5 separate regions of the Homo sapiens genome follow, and all the other regions are linked to region 1. The links are contacts of gene promoters, found by promoter capture Hi-C in blood cells and fetal thymus (Javierre and others, 2016). All regions are on one chromosome and are shown on one strand. The core of a region is centred on a gene start or on the middle of the fragment in contact, and the rest is flanking DNA. Distances in the headings are between cores, read along the strand shown. Region 1 holds the start of ARL4C (ARF like GTPase 4C). Region 2 overlaps MSL3B (MSL complex subunit 3B). Region 3 has its middle 19 kb from the start of MSL3B. Region 4 overlaps TRPM8 (transient receptor potential cation channel subfamily M member 8). Region 5 overlaps TRPM8 (transient receptor potential cation channel subfamily M member 8).

The links. The method cuts DNA at HindIII sites, captures the fragments that hold promoters and counts their contacts. A CHiCAGO score of 5 or more calls a contact.
Region 2: a contact is called between a fragment that was not itself captured here and the fragment with the promoter of ARL4C in region 1, in 8 of 17 cell types (naive CD8 T cells, total CD4 T cells, total CD8 T cells and 5 more). The highest score is 9.7, in naive CD8 T cells.
Region 3: a fragment that was not itself captured here is called in contact with the fragment with the promoter of ARL4C in region 1 in 1 of 17 cell types (total CD4 T cells); the score reaches 5.0 in total CD4 T cells.
Region 4: a contact is called between a fragment that was not itself captured here and the fragment with the promoter of ARL4C in region 1, in 2 of 17 cell types (total CD4 T cells and naive B cells). The highest score is 6.0, in total CD4 T cells.
Region 5: a fragment that was not itself captured here is called in contact with the fragment with the promoter of ARL4C in region 1 in 6 of 17 cell types (total CD4 T cells, total CD8 T cells, non-activated CD4 T cells and 3 more); the score reaches 10.1 in total CD4 T cells.

What each region holds. Positions count from the first base shown.
Region 1 is chr2:234,495,819-234,498,346 of GRCh38, forward strand. ARL4C (ARF like GTPase 4C) reads right to left here and starts at 1,263. Exons shown (of 2, transcript NM_001282431.2): 1 at 194-1,263; 2 at 1-18. The coding sequence starts at 768. RefSeq lists silencers at 841-940, 1,051-1,340 and an enhancer at 1,525-2,298. The HindIII fragment of the contact is 13,705 bases long and covers 1-2,528 here.
Region 2 is chr2:233,862,666-233,865,193 of GRCh38, forward strand. It overlaps MSL3B (MSL complex subunit 3B), which reads right to left. Exons shown (of 2, transcript NM_001425333.1): 2 at 1,998-2,528. Among named protein-coding and RNA genes, the nearest start is that of MSL3B, 4.5 kb to the right of the region's middle. The HindIII fragment of the contact is 190 bases long and covers 1,165-1,354 here.
Region 3 is chr2:233,886,029-233,888,556 of GRCh38, forward strand. No RefSeq gene overlaps it. Among named protein-coding and RNA genes, the nearest start is that of MSL3B, 19 kb to the left of the region's middle. The HindIII fragment of the contact is 4,896 bases long and covers 1-2,528 here.
Region 4 is chr2:233,930,388-233,932,915 of GRCh38, forward strand. It overlaps TRPM8 (transient receptor potential cation channel subfamily M member 8), which reads left to right. Exons shown (of 26, transcript NM_024080.5): 3 at 281-354. Among named protein-coding and RNA genes, the nearest start is that of TRPM8, 14 kb to the left of the region's middle. The HindIII fragment of the contact is 291 bases long and covers 1,126-1,416 here.
Region 5 is chr2:233,953,388-233,955,915 of GRCh38, forward strand. It overlaps TRPM8 (transient receptor potential cation channel subfamily M member 8), which reads left to right. Exons shown (of 26, transcript NM_024080.5): 10 at 530-632; 11 at 1,745-1,863. Among named protein-coding and RNA genes, the nearest start is that of TRPM8, 37 kb to the left of the region's middle. The HindIII fragment of the contact is 1,060 bases long and covers 733-1,792 here.

The DNA of each region.
Region 1 (2,528 bases), core at 13-2,512:
CTCCTTAAGTCACCAGTCCTGCATTTGGGTGCAGAGATTCCGTTTTAAAAATTCGAAGCATCGCTTTGGTTCGCTCTTTGTTCGCGGGCGCGGGTTCTCGCTCATCCATCCATCCATCCATCCAACCATCCATCCATCCATTCATTCTTTCTTGACGCACTCGCTCGCTCCCCGGTCGCTCCGGGCGCATTACCGCTTCTTCTTCTGCTTGAGGGACTTCCTGCGTTTCAGGATCATCTCATAGAGCTTGTCCATGCCCTCGGTGAGGCCCTCGCCGATGATGGCGCACGCCGGCTGGACGTGATAGGTGGTGGCCGGGATAAGCTCGTGCAGCGCCAGCTGCTTCTCAATCTCTGCCACCGGCAGCGACTTGGGCAGGTCCTGCTTGTTGGCGATGACCAGCAGCGGCGTGCCCTGGTTCTCGGCGAACTTGGTCACCTTGTGCAGCTCCGTCTTGGCCTCCTCCAGCCGGTCCACGTCCACCGAGTCCACCACGTAGATGATGCCGTCCGTGCAGCGGCTGTAGGACTTCCACAGCGGCCGCAGCTTCTCCTGGCCGCCCACGTCCCAGAAGTGGCAGCTGATGCCCTTGGCCGTGCCGTTGCTCAGCTTGATCTTCTCGGTGTTGAAGCCGATGGTGGGCACCGTGTTCACGAACTCGTTGAACTTGAGCCGGTAGAGCACCGTGGTCTTGCCGGCCGAGTCCAAGCCCAACATGACGATATGCAGGGACTGGAAGGCCGAGATGTTAGAGGAGATGTTGCCCATGGCTCCTGGCTGCGGCGCCAGCCACTGCGGCTGCGGCGGGAGGGCGCCGCCCCCCGAGCAGTCACGGGCCCGACGCGGCCGGGCGCACCTGGGCCCCGCCCGCCGCCGCCCGCACCGGCCCCGGGGCTCGGCGTCCCCGCGGGCGCACGGCTTGGCGCGCTCAGACGCCGCAGTCCCCGCGCCCTCGCCGGCCGGGCTCGCGATCGGCGGGCATCGCGTCTCTACGCGCGGCTTTGTCTCCCGCGAAGCCGCCTCAGATGTTCGGCGCCCTCCCCAGGCCTGGGCTCGCTCTGTGGTTTCCTCGGGCCGCGCCCCCGCGCTCCGGCAGCTGCCCGGGCTCTCCGCTCTCCCGGCGCCCGGCGCTCGCCTCTGGCCTGGGACGGCGCTGCTCCTGCTCCTGCTCCCGCTCCCGCTCCCGGAGCGCGGGCTTCCCCGGGAGTCGCTGTCCGCTCGGCAGCCTCACAGTCCCCGCGCCGCCGCAGCAGCCGCCAGCCTGCAGCGGCCGGAGAGCTCCCGGACCCGCCCCCTCGCGCCCCGCCCCGGACCCGCCCCCGGACCCGCCCCGGGCCCCGCCCCGCCCGCCGCCGGGGGTCAGGCGCGGTCCTCCCCGCCCAGCCGGCCGTTTTCGCGCGCTTCGCTGCGTCCCCGCCGCCCCCCGCCGCCCCCCGGCCCCTCCCGCGCCGCGCCGCGCAGACACAATGGGCGCGGAGCCGGCTCTTCCTCCCCAGCGGCTGACGCGTTTGCAAAAATAGCTCTCGGCTCCCGGAATCCCCGCCCGGGTCCTAGCCCGCCCCCTGCCCCTCCGGGCCGCAGCCGTGGGCGACGCAGCCTGCCTGAGGGAGTGGGTCCCGGGGTCCCAGCTCTGTGGGCGCGAGGCGGGGCAGGGCGGCCCCCAGGGTGACTGGGAGAGCGCCGCTCTGGGGAGTGAGGGCGGCGAGGCTGGGGCCTCCAAACCCCAGAAGGGACGGGACGGGGCTGGCCTCGGTGAGCTGCCAGCCTGCGCTCTGGATCCAGCCGGGCGCGTCCCCTCCCACCCTCGCGCCGCGGCTGTCGCCGGCCCCGGCCCCCAGTGACGCCCAGGCTCGCCTCCTGCCTGGGTTCCAGGGGGCTGCACCCGGCCAGCGCCGCCCTCCGGAGCCCAGGCCTGTGCCCAGGGCACCCTGGAGGCCCAGCCTTTCTTGCCCGGTGGCGGCGGTTGGGGCAGGGTCGGACCTAGGCCGCGATGGGGGATTAGAAGACCTACCTGCCCCAAGTAGCTCGGACAGCTCACCCTCCCAGACACGCCTGGGCTACCTCATTTCGTCCGCATCGACTCTGCTGACATCCCAGGGGAAGCGTCAGCATTTCGGGAGAGCACCCCTTGCCACCCGACTTTGGGAACTGAGAACCACCTGCCCGCAGGTGAACTACTCCGCAGAAATGGCAACACCAGCCCCGGGGGCTGAAAGAAAATGTGTCTACAGCTTGGAGCTGGTGGCGCAGTGGGTTACAAACACTGATATTCCACGGGTTCCACCTCCTGTCACCTCAGTTCAATGGTTTTATTCTGGTTTGTAAACATGTAACAAATGTATATCCTCTCTGGGTGCGGAGAAAAGTGAGAGTATATTATGGCAAACACACAGATCTGGGGAGAGCTGCTCCGCAGGAGACAGCAGGCCGCAGCATGGGCGACCGCATCTTCCCAGCTCTAGCTTATGAGACAGAAACGACGGAAACGGGGTCAAGGGAGAAGAAAATGAAAATGCTAAGAATTTATG
Region 2 (2,528 bases), core at 10-2,509, 630 kb before region 1:
AGAGGTCCATGGAACCCTTTTTCTTCTCAGTCTCCTCTTTTTGTCCTCATTCAGCCAAAGTTACAAGAAAGAATCAAAAAAATTATTCACCTCTTTACCACTATAAATGATTCTTTCTGAAGAGGAGGTTTCATTTGCAAAGATCGTATTTTCAGTTTGAACATTGATCAGCAGAATTTCATTCTTATTTCATCTTTGAATATTTCATTGAATCATCTGTCAGGACAGTAGCTGCACAAAATCATTTAAGACTCTAACAACAGATCTCAAACAATTGTGAGATTAAAAAAAAAAAACATATAGGCTGGGCGTGGTGGCTCACGCCTGTAATTCCAACACTTTGGGAGGCCAAGATGGGTGGATCATTTGAGGTCAGGAGTTCAAGACCAGCCAGGCCAACATGGTGACCCCATCTCCATTAGAAATACAAAAAAATTAGCTGGGCGTGGTGGCACACACCTGTAATCCCAGCCATTGGGGAAGGCTGAGGCAGGAGAATTGCTTGAACCTGGGAGATGGAGGTTGCAGTGAGCTGAGAACACACTACTGCACTCCAACCTGGGCAACAGTGTGAGACTCCATCTCAAAACAAACAAACAAACAAAACAAACAAACTTAGGAATATTATTTTAAGAAGGGATTGGGAGATTTCCTAAGAAAAGAATTTTCAACAACTTGGTGAGAAGCTCACCTTGCCTTTCTTTTAGCTTTGACATAGATTGGACCAAGTCACATAGAATTACTCTAGATACAGGAAGTATTATACAGGAAGTATTATAGAATTACTCCAGATAGCAGGAAGTATTATTAGCGACAGCCTAGACTCTCTCTTAATTGGCCCAAATAAAATCCAAGCTGGCCGGGCGCGGTGGCTCATGCCTGTAATCCCAGCACTTCGGGAGGCTGAGGTGGGTGAATCACGAAGTCAGGAGATCGAGACCATCCTGGCTAGCATGGTGAAACCCCGTCTCTACTAAAAATACAAAAAATTAGCTGGGCGCGGTGGCGGGCGCCTGTAGTCCCAGCTACTGGGGAGGCTGAGGCAGGAGAATGGCGTGAACCCAGGAGGCAGAGCTTGTAGTGAGCGGAGATGGCACCACTGCACTCCACCCTGGGCAACAGAGCGAGACTCCTTCTCAAAAAAAAAAAAAAAAAAAAAATCCAAGCTTATTCTATTATGCATAGCTACTATTTGGGCTGAGGAATTTAAACTGGCTTTATGTAGCTTGATTAAATTCACATTAGTAGCCTTAATTATAGAAATGGCTATTATTTGGGTCTTTCTAAGAGTTGGGAAGGCAACTCATCCTTAAGTTCACTTCAAATTGTCCTTCAAATTGGCTGCACAAGCAAAAGCTTAGGAGAGTTGTATTATAAAATTCAGCTCTCTAGTAAAGCCTAGTATTGGGCAAGAAAAGTAATTATCACCTAGACTTCCTGGTATCATCTCTTTTTATTCATTTTTAAGATAACATGAAAAAACCATTAAATTGGGATTTTGTTTTAGACTATCCAAAGATTGGTTATGGGCATAGATACTTTTTGAGTGAATGGAACACAAGTACGAGCTTCTCCTTCATTGGATAAGAGTAACAGAAGGCTGCCAGACTGAGTGTGTACATAGGAATATGGTAATATGTGAGGGAAAGAGTAACAATCAAATTAGTAAACGGCAGAAAAAATGTTGGGTGGTTTCTATTAACAGTAGGGATTTGCTGCATATATTAACATCAGATTTAAAGGTAATCCTAGTACAAGACCAAAAGATGCTTTGACTAATTTAGTAGAGGCCTGTAACTGCTTGGATACATGAAGCTAAGCCTTGGATATTGGATCAAAGAATAGCTAAAAAAGACCATGAGTTTTTGACATATGCCATGCCATAGAGGTAATACTTTTAAGAGCATCACTGTCCATTAAAAATATGTGAGACACATTGGTCATTTTAAGTTTTTAAAATATTAACATTTTTTAAAAGTAAAAAGAAATAGGTGAAGTTATTTTAAAAACATTTTATTTAACCCAATGTATCTAAAATATTGTCAGTTCGACATTTAACCAATGCTGAAAATTATTAATGAGATATGTTACATTTATTTTTACATATTAAGTCTTCAAACTCCAGTGCTCTAACCTCACACTTAGAGCACGTCTCAATTTGGACTAGCACAGTTCAAGCTCTTAGCCTTGTGACATACCTTATCCTTTCATGGACATGCAAGAGAATTATGATAATCTAGGAAGAATCCATCTGGACACTTACGGGTTTTGCTCAAATTAACTAACCAAAAATACATCCAGCTTTGTCTTTGTACTTCAGATATTGTGGGTGGCACGTCATTCTCTCACAGTATTATCACTTTCCTATTTGATGCTACTGAAGCCACAGTGGGAAGATATGTCTCTGTGGGCTTTCTATTAGGATCACAGAAAGTGAAATCTTTTCTGTTTTCTCTTATGTAGCAATTTGTGGGCTAGCACCTAAGGAATTTCTGACTCTAAAGACTAAATCTTATGTGGTCTAAAAT
Region 3 (2,528 bases), core at 10-2,509, 610 kb before region 1:
TAACTGACTCCTTACTGATGAGTAGATGGTTCTCATCTCTCATCTCTGACAGTTGAAGAAAAATGTGTGTCCTCAGTGTCCCTGTGTATGCACACAACAGGAATAGGTGAGTAGGATTAATTCAGAGATAGAAAATTGTGGCGTTAAAGGGTATATCCCCACAGTATTTGATAGACGTTGCCAAACTGCTCACCTTGAGGATTTGGGAACCTGAAGTTTGGGAACATCATTGTTGTGCAGCTTCATCTTTGAAGGGCACTCAGCGCTTATGATTATAGGGGAACCTGAATGGATGATCATTCCTTCTTCCTGCTTATTGAGGGGGACAGAACAATGGCCAGCACTACCACAGAAAGGATAGTGACAATAGTAGTGACAATAAATATACTTTTATTTGGTTAAATCTTTCCCCTGTTTAATGCAAGATTTATCATTAAAGAGGACTACACAAAACATTAAGAGAACTCCGAGATGGAGTTTAACAAAGGTTGTTAAACCAATTTACAGTCCTGTAAGCAATGTTCTCATGTTATCGCAATCTTTGATCTTTGCTAATCTGATACGTAAACTCTTATATCATTTTAGTTTTCCTTATCATCTTGAGCATATTTTTATAGGTTTAATGGCCATTATTTTTCTTTTTTCTGTAAAATATCCTTTTTTGTCCTTTGACTGTTACATGCTCTTCTCAGGGTATTAATGGGCCTTATGGATGCCCTTGATTGAACAACTCTGTCTTGGGTAATGTAATGGAATTGGGAGCTGAATCCCAGGGTAATCCACTTCCTGCAACAGGTAATAAAATAGGTAATAACAAAAACCCCATTTACTGAGCAGGGACTGTGCTTAGTAGTTTACATACATTGTATCCCTCCATGAAAGGAGGGAGACAACCTGTGTTGAAGTCCCAATTCTGCAATTTGTAACCAAGTCTACATTGGGCAATATATCTGAGCCTCAGTTATGTCATCTGTAAAATGGGGATAATACCTCCCTCATAGAGTTATGGAGATTAAATAAAATAAACTAGGTAAAAACACCTGGTGCCATGCTTGGCATAAGTATAATGGGTGCTAAGGAATGTTGATTTCCTAACCATGCTGGCATGAGGCTGAAGAAAAGACAAAAGAGAAGGGCTACTTCCAAATCACATTGCAATGATGTGAGTAGGAGTGACAGATGTCCTCCTGGATATGTTGGTAGGAAAGAAAGCTGGGTGACAACAGCAACATTTTTCAATTAACATCCCAAATCTCATAGTTTCTCTGAGGTCTGGAAGAAAACTATTAACTTATTTCAGAGCATGACTCTTGGATCTATAATAGCTTTATAGTTTTAAAAGGCCAAATGAAAACCAAATAAGTATTAATGCAAATATGAGGGCAGAGATTTCTAAATGGCTCTGGAACAGACTTTAGCTAAATGACTTTCCTTCTCTTCTTTTTGGAGGGCAATGCTTTTGCATTTTCCAGGTGCCTGCTTAGTTGTCTCTTGGCTTTCACAGCATACCTAACATGTTGTGGATGGAGCCTAATGGGCCATTCTGCCTCAGAAGGGTCTAATAATATCACACTTCTTTGAAATGGCCCTGAACTTGGAATATTGCCTTTAGGGTTGTGGCTTTCCTCTTTACCGTACTGTGAGGCTTTTACTAACCTTTCTGATAAGTTTGAGGATTATGGCAAGGAACCTTCTATACCACTCTGTTTTCTTGGGTTGAATTCCCTAAGGCAGCTTATCTGTTGAAGAGTTGAAGTTCAGCTCTAAGTCCCATTTATGTCAGGGGTTATACATTCATTTCAAGGTGTACTTGTTCTTTAATTGAATACAAGTCTTAGGGAAGGGAGCATGTCTATCAGAGTCACAGGGAGGGTCACTTGATGTGAAACTAACATCCTGAAAGTTGGGCTTATATATCCTATTGCTGGGAAGAGCAGGTAACGGATTACCTCATTTCATCATTAATGCAAGAAATTAGACCTGTTGCAGGTTCAGAGGGGAGCCAGTGACTTGGCTTGACCACCTGCAACAACCCTCACCACTATTTACCCACATTAATCTTATCTACAATTCCATTATATTGGGAAATGTGGATGAGAAAGTTGAGAACACCATTGTTGTGTGGCTGCATCTTTGAATGGCACTCAGAGTTTATGATTATAGGGAAGCCTGAATGGATGATCATTCCTTCTTCCTGCTTATTGAGGGGGACAGAACAATGGCCAGCACTACCACAGAAATGATAGTGACTATAGTGGTGACAATAAATATTTTGGTTAAATATTTTCCCTCTTTAATGCAAGATTTATCATTAAAGAGGACTACACAAAACATTAAGAGAACTCTGAGCTGGAGTTTAACACAGGATGTTTATTTGGGGATGCACTTGGGATCAAACCTTGAGGAAGAGGATGAAAATGGGAGTAGGCAGAAGGAGAAGTCAGGCTGGGATGGAGACCCAGTGACAGCCTCGGACAACAGGGAACTCTGAGGTTAGATGGTTCTTCAGAGCTCCTTGCATTGGACCA
Region 4 (2,528 bases), core at 21-2,520, 570 kb before region 1:
TGGAAAAACATAATTTGTATGTATATAATACTGTTTATAAATAAGATAAGTCCAAATCACTTCTAGAAAAATTTTCCATTTAGTTATAAAAATTTTAAAGTTTGCATCTTTAAAAAAAATTTTGTATACTCTAAAGGCATGAACAAATGCTGGATGCTATGAATATGTGGTAAATTCTTAAAGCCTTTGAAGTGGGGTTACATCATATTTAGTATTCATCAATATCAGCAAGGGGTGAGAATAAATTAGTAATGTGTTATTCAATGTTCTCTCTCCAAAGGACTTGGTGAATTTTATTCAAGCAAATTTTAAGAAACGAGAATGTGTCTTCTTTACCAAAGATTCCAAGGCCACGTAAGCTACTATTTTCCCTCCAGTTTTGCTTTCCAAGTTCAAAAAAATTATCAGCCACCCTTACAACAAACAAATGCTCCCTAGTTCATTATTAAAGATGTCTTCGTCTTATAATTCTCAGAAACACTGTTTGCGCAGGAAGGATCTGGCAAGGAGCTTATAGTTGTTACTCAGAGCTATACAATTTTGTTTGGTATTTTCAGCTTTGGCCATAGTTGGAAAAGTCGTTGAGGGAGGCTGTCACTCTCTTCAGTATTCCCATGAGATTGGGAACCCACCTGAGTGACCTTGGTAATGAAAGTTGTTTTACAGCTGTTGGCTGGCAATACCATGCATGTGTACATATGTCCATCTTACTGGCTCCTCCGTCAGGCTTTTCTTCCCTGCTGTTGACTTTAGGTCTTTCCTTCTAATTGAGTGTTCATCTGCTCTAAGTCTCATGTGTTTTGGAACATTAAGGCTGGGTTACAAAAGCAGGCTTCACCAGCTCAGCCTACAGGAGTTCTTCAATAACTGTTGATGAGCAAGTGAGTGAGTGAATGGGTCGACTAGTGCTCACCCTTTGTGTAGAAGATGCATTTGAATCTAATTAAACAATTTTCGTCCTACCTCCCACTCTCCTTATTCCTCTCTGCCCCTTCCTTTCTGTTGGCTGGCAATGCAAGAAAGAGTCTAGCTATTAATTGCAAGTTGCTGCTGTAGTTTATAATGAAAAGACTCTCTGTTGAACAGGGTCAATGAACAGAGGAAGGATATAGAAATAAGGAAAAAAGCTTTAGAACCAGCTTTGGTTTCAACCTTGACTTGGCTGACTCCTCACTGTGTGGCCTTGAGCCAATTATTCTCTTTTCTAAAGCTAATTCTCTTATCCTAAAAATCTAGCAAAAGTATACCTCATGGGTTGTGGTATTCAAGACGCAGCATATAAAATACCTACCATAATGCTTCAGAGCATAATTCTTACTTCATGTGAATTAGAAAATGAACACCAGAAAAACTAAGAGATCTCTGCCTTGTCACTGGTAAAAACATACGCATCATGAGTCATTCTGACAAAGTGTAAGCTTTGTAAGACCACTATTTATCCCCTGTATGTTTCATGAATGGGACTTACATACTGGATTGCTAATATTATCAACCTCCTTGCAAGGAAGCTGTTGCTACCTTTAAGGCAAGTGAGGCCCAGAGAAGTTCAGTATTTTACCCATGGTCACATGTGCAGTGGAAGATGGATGAGAGACTTGAGCCCGGGCTTTCTGATTCCAAGGCTGTGCCTTCTCTATACCGTCAGTTGCCTCCCTTTCTAAGAATGGCGTTGCTTTGGGCAGAACAAATTCCTCAACACGTTCTCAGTTACATATGTTCAATCTAACTGGCATAAGTGGAAGCTGGAGCAGGGATTCTGTGGGGTGTGATAATGGGATCTTGTGGCTGAAAAGCACAGCCAGATCCAGGGCTTCAACAACGTCGCCGAGACTCTGTCTCTTTCCACCTGTTGTTCCTGCCCTTCTCTGATGGATGGGCTCTTCACTATTGGAGGCAAAATGGTCATTGTTGGTTGTGCGTTATCAGCTTTCCATTTGCCAGTTAGAGCAAAGAGGGCCTTGCTCCTAGCAATTCCATCAAAAGTCCTGGGCTGATGTTTATGGCTCTTAATGGTCTTGCTTGGAGCATGTGCCTATCTCTAAACTAATCCCTGGGGCTGGAGGATGGAAGTTGAGGGACAGTGGAATATGTTGATTGGCAAGGCTTGGGAGATGTGTCCAGGTGAACTCAATGCAGAAAGGCATGATTCCTCAAGGAAAATCAGGGCGCACTTACTAGTGGAAGGGGAAGTAGATGCAGGTTAGGGAAACCTGTGGCTGTTCACCTTACAGTGCTTGATTACAGCTCAAGTCTGGGTCAAAATGAAGGGAGATGTGGTGGGCAGCCGCAGCCCTCAGCAACACAAGCGGAGCACAGGAACACCTCAGGGTCTTCCAGTTCCCATCTCAGAAGGTATGCAAGGATGCAGGATTCTATAATCTTTGAATCCCCCATGTTTATTATTTCTCTCTCTCCACAGGTAGTGGGATCACTCCATGTAATCTAAGTTACCCATCAGACAAGGGCATCAAATGAAGTGATGATTAATTTTATTGATACCCTGGTTTTGCTGTTACTTGCCACACTAG
Region 5 (2,528 bases), core at 13-2,512, 540 kb before region 1:
GAAATTACAGGGTTATTTACTTTTTAAAACGTCTTAAAATTAAACATTACAGAAAAATAACAAAGGACAATATAGAAAATTCTTTATCTGTTTCTCCAGTTTCCAAGCCTTCTTTCTTGTTTGCATTTGAGCTTTTATTTCCTATTGTTTAAATCTTTATGGGCACACTTGGATGGTGTCTACAGTCTTCTATTGTCCCTTCTTTATTTACTTGGTCATTTAATAACTGAGCATCTGCCATGTGCCAGGCTTTGTGACACACACACACACACACAGCACCTGCACGCAGATGCACACATCTCTAGTCAAATGAGGCTCTCAGCTTTTTGATAGGGGCTTTTTGATACGTGTATAACCAATACTTTATTCTCACTGTAGTCAAGGACTCATTGCAATTCAGAAATGAGAAGCTGATCCGGAACTCCACTACAGGTGGTCTTTTTAAAAAGATCTCTCACAAAAAGAAAGAAGTTTATGCTCCTCATGCCTAAAATCTGTTGGCTGACACTTTGTTCTTTAATTTCGCCAGCTCAAAGAAATTCTCGAATGTTCTCACCTATTAACAGTTATTAAAATGGAAGAAGCTGGGGATGAAATTGTGAGCAATGCCATCTCCTACGCTCTATACAAAGGTGAGTAAAAATAGCTCCTTTTGAAGTGTCAGCTTTGTGTTGCCTTCTGTGGCTTTTCATGACTTACATTTCTTTTATAAAACAGCTTTATTGAAAGGCAAGCTTGTACTTAATTTTGATGATCCTAGATTGGAAGCTAGAATAACTACGCTTGTCCTGGTGAGGTGAATCTCCTTGGTTGTATGTATTTGATAGAATAATAATTTTTATGTCATTAAAATACTGGTCAAACAAAATCGCAGTAGTCTCCAAAGAGCTATTTCTAACAGTGGTTGAAAATAATTTTTTTATTGGGCCTCAGATTCCTTTGAGAATATGGCAAAACTATGGATCTTTGTCCTAGCATTCTACATATTTGTACACATATGCACACATACTTCACACCTAAGTAACTTTGCATTTAATTTCAGGGGTTTACAAATTTCCTGAGGCTTATGAATGAACCTCAGGTTAAAAAATTCTCATTCATGATCTTTGCTGCTTTAGAATTCCGTAAAGTGGATGTTACCCATAGTAAATAGATCCTTGGTTGTCTAGACTTGAATTGTGTGACTGATAAATATAAATTAGCTAGAGTAGAGCCAGGCACGTTGGAAGTGCATTTAAAGCATCAGCAATTTATTAGAATCATTCTTATTGTACTTGCCAGACATTTGGTTATAAAGGTATTTATTAAAATGGAATTATATCTGCACAGATACATAGATGCATAAAATATTAGCTCTGGAAAAGACAAGAATGACATTGTTGTAAGGTGGCTTATTGTTTCGTAGATTTAGATGTAGCATAAGTCAGATATGGCCTTGAAATATAATACTATGGAATCTGAATCTATGGAAAAAACCTTTACTATACCATTATTACACTGCTAGGATATGCAATGGAAAAACATTACTGTAGCCTGAGTTGATCCCCATTATAAACTTTGGGACATACAGAATGTGGTTAAGAATGAGTGAAGATAGAGTGAATGACAGTTTGAGTGTCTGAATGTAAGAGAACATGATCAGCATTACCTGTGATAAACAGCTCTGATAATTGGCCACACTGAATGGTTCTCACTCTTATTTCTGAGCCTTTGGTGAGTTGAGTCTTTTCCTGCCCTCTCACAGCCTTCAGCACCAGTGAGCAAGACAAGGATAACTGGAATGGGCAGCTGAAGCTTCTGCTGGAGTGGAACCAGCTGGACTTAGCCAATGATGAGATTTTCACCAATGACCGCCGATGGGAGGTAAGCACGAAGCTCTCCTGGGTTATTCCAGTGTTGGGTCTGGACAGTGGTCTGGGCAATGTCTGATCCATTTCCAACAAGGTCTTCAATACCAAATCTCTTAAAGGATTGTTCTGTTCCAGAATATCAGGATTGCTGAGGCTTAATTTCCTTGTTTGCAGCATGGAATCATAACATTGACTTAGTAGGTTTGTTGTGAAGAGATAATAAAAATAAATGGTATAAAATAACATCAACTCCACATTGCCTTCAGCTGCAAAGTGAGGGTGATTCTCCATCTGGGTGTAGAGATGCAGATCTCCTTCTGGATGTGTGTGGGCAGAAGTATGGGAAAAATATATGCTAGATGATTGAAAGTAGCTCAACTATAAATCCAGACGGCAGCACTCTTTTTGCTCCCTGCCCCCACCTGCCTAGCCAAATTCTGATTAGAGAACCGTCCGTAGTGAGATACATAAGAGACAAATAGAACAACTTGACTGACGCTCCCCAGTGAACGTCTTAGAGCAGGGGTGCCGGTCCATGGCCTGTTAGGAACAACAGGAAGTGAGCAGTGGGCGAGCAAGTGAAACTTCATCTGTATTTACACCAGCTCCCCATTGCTCACATTACCGCCTGAGCTCCGCCTTCAGTCCGATCAGTGGCGGTATTCGATTCCTATAGGA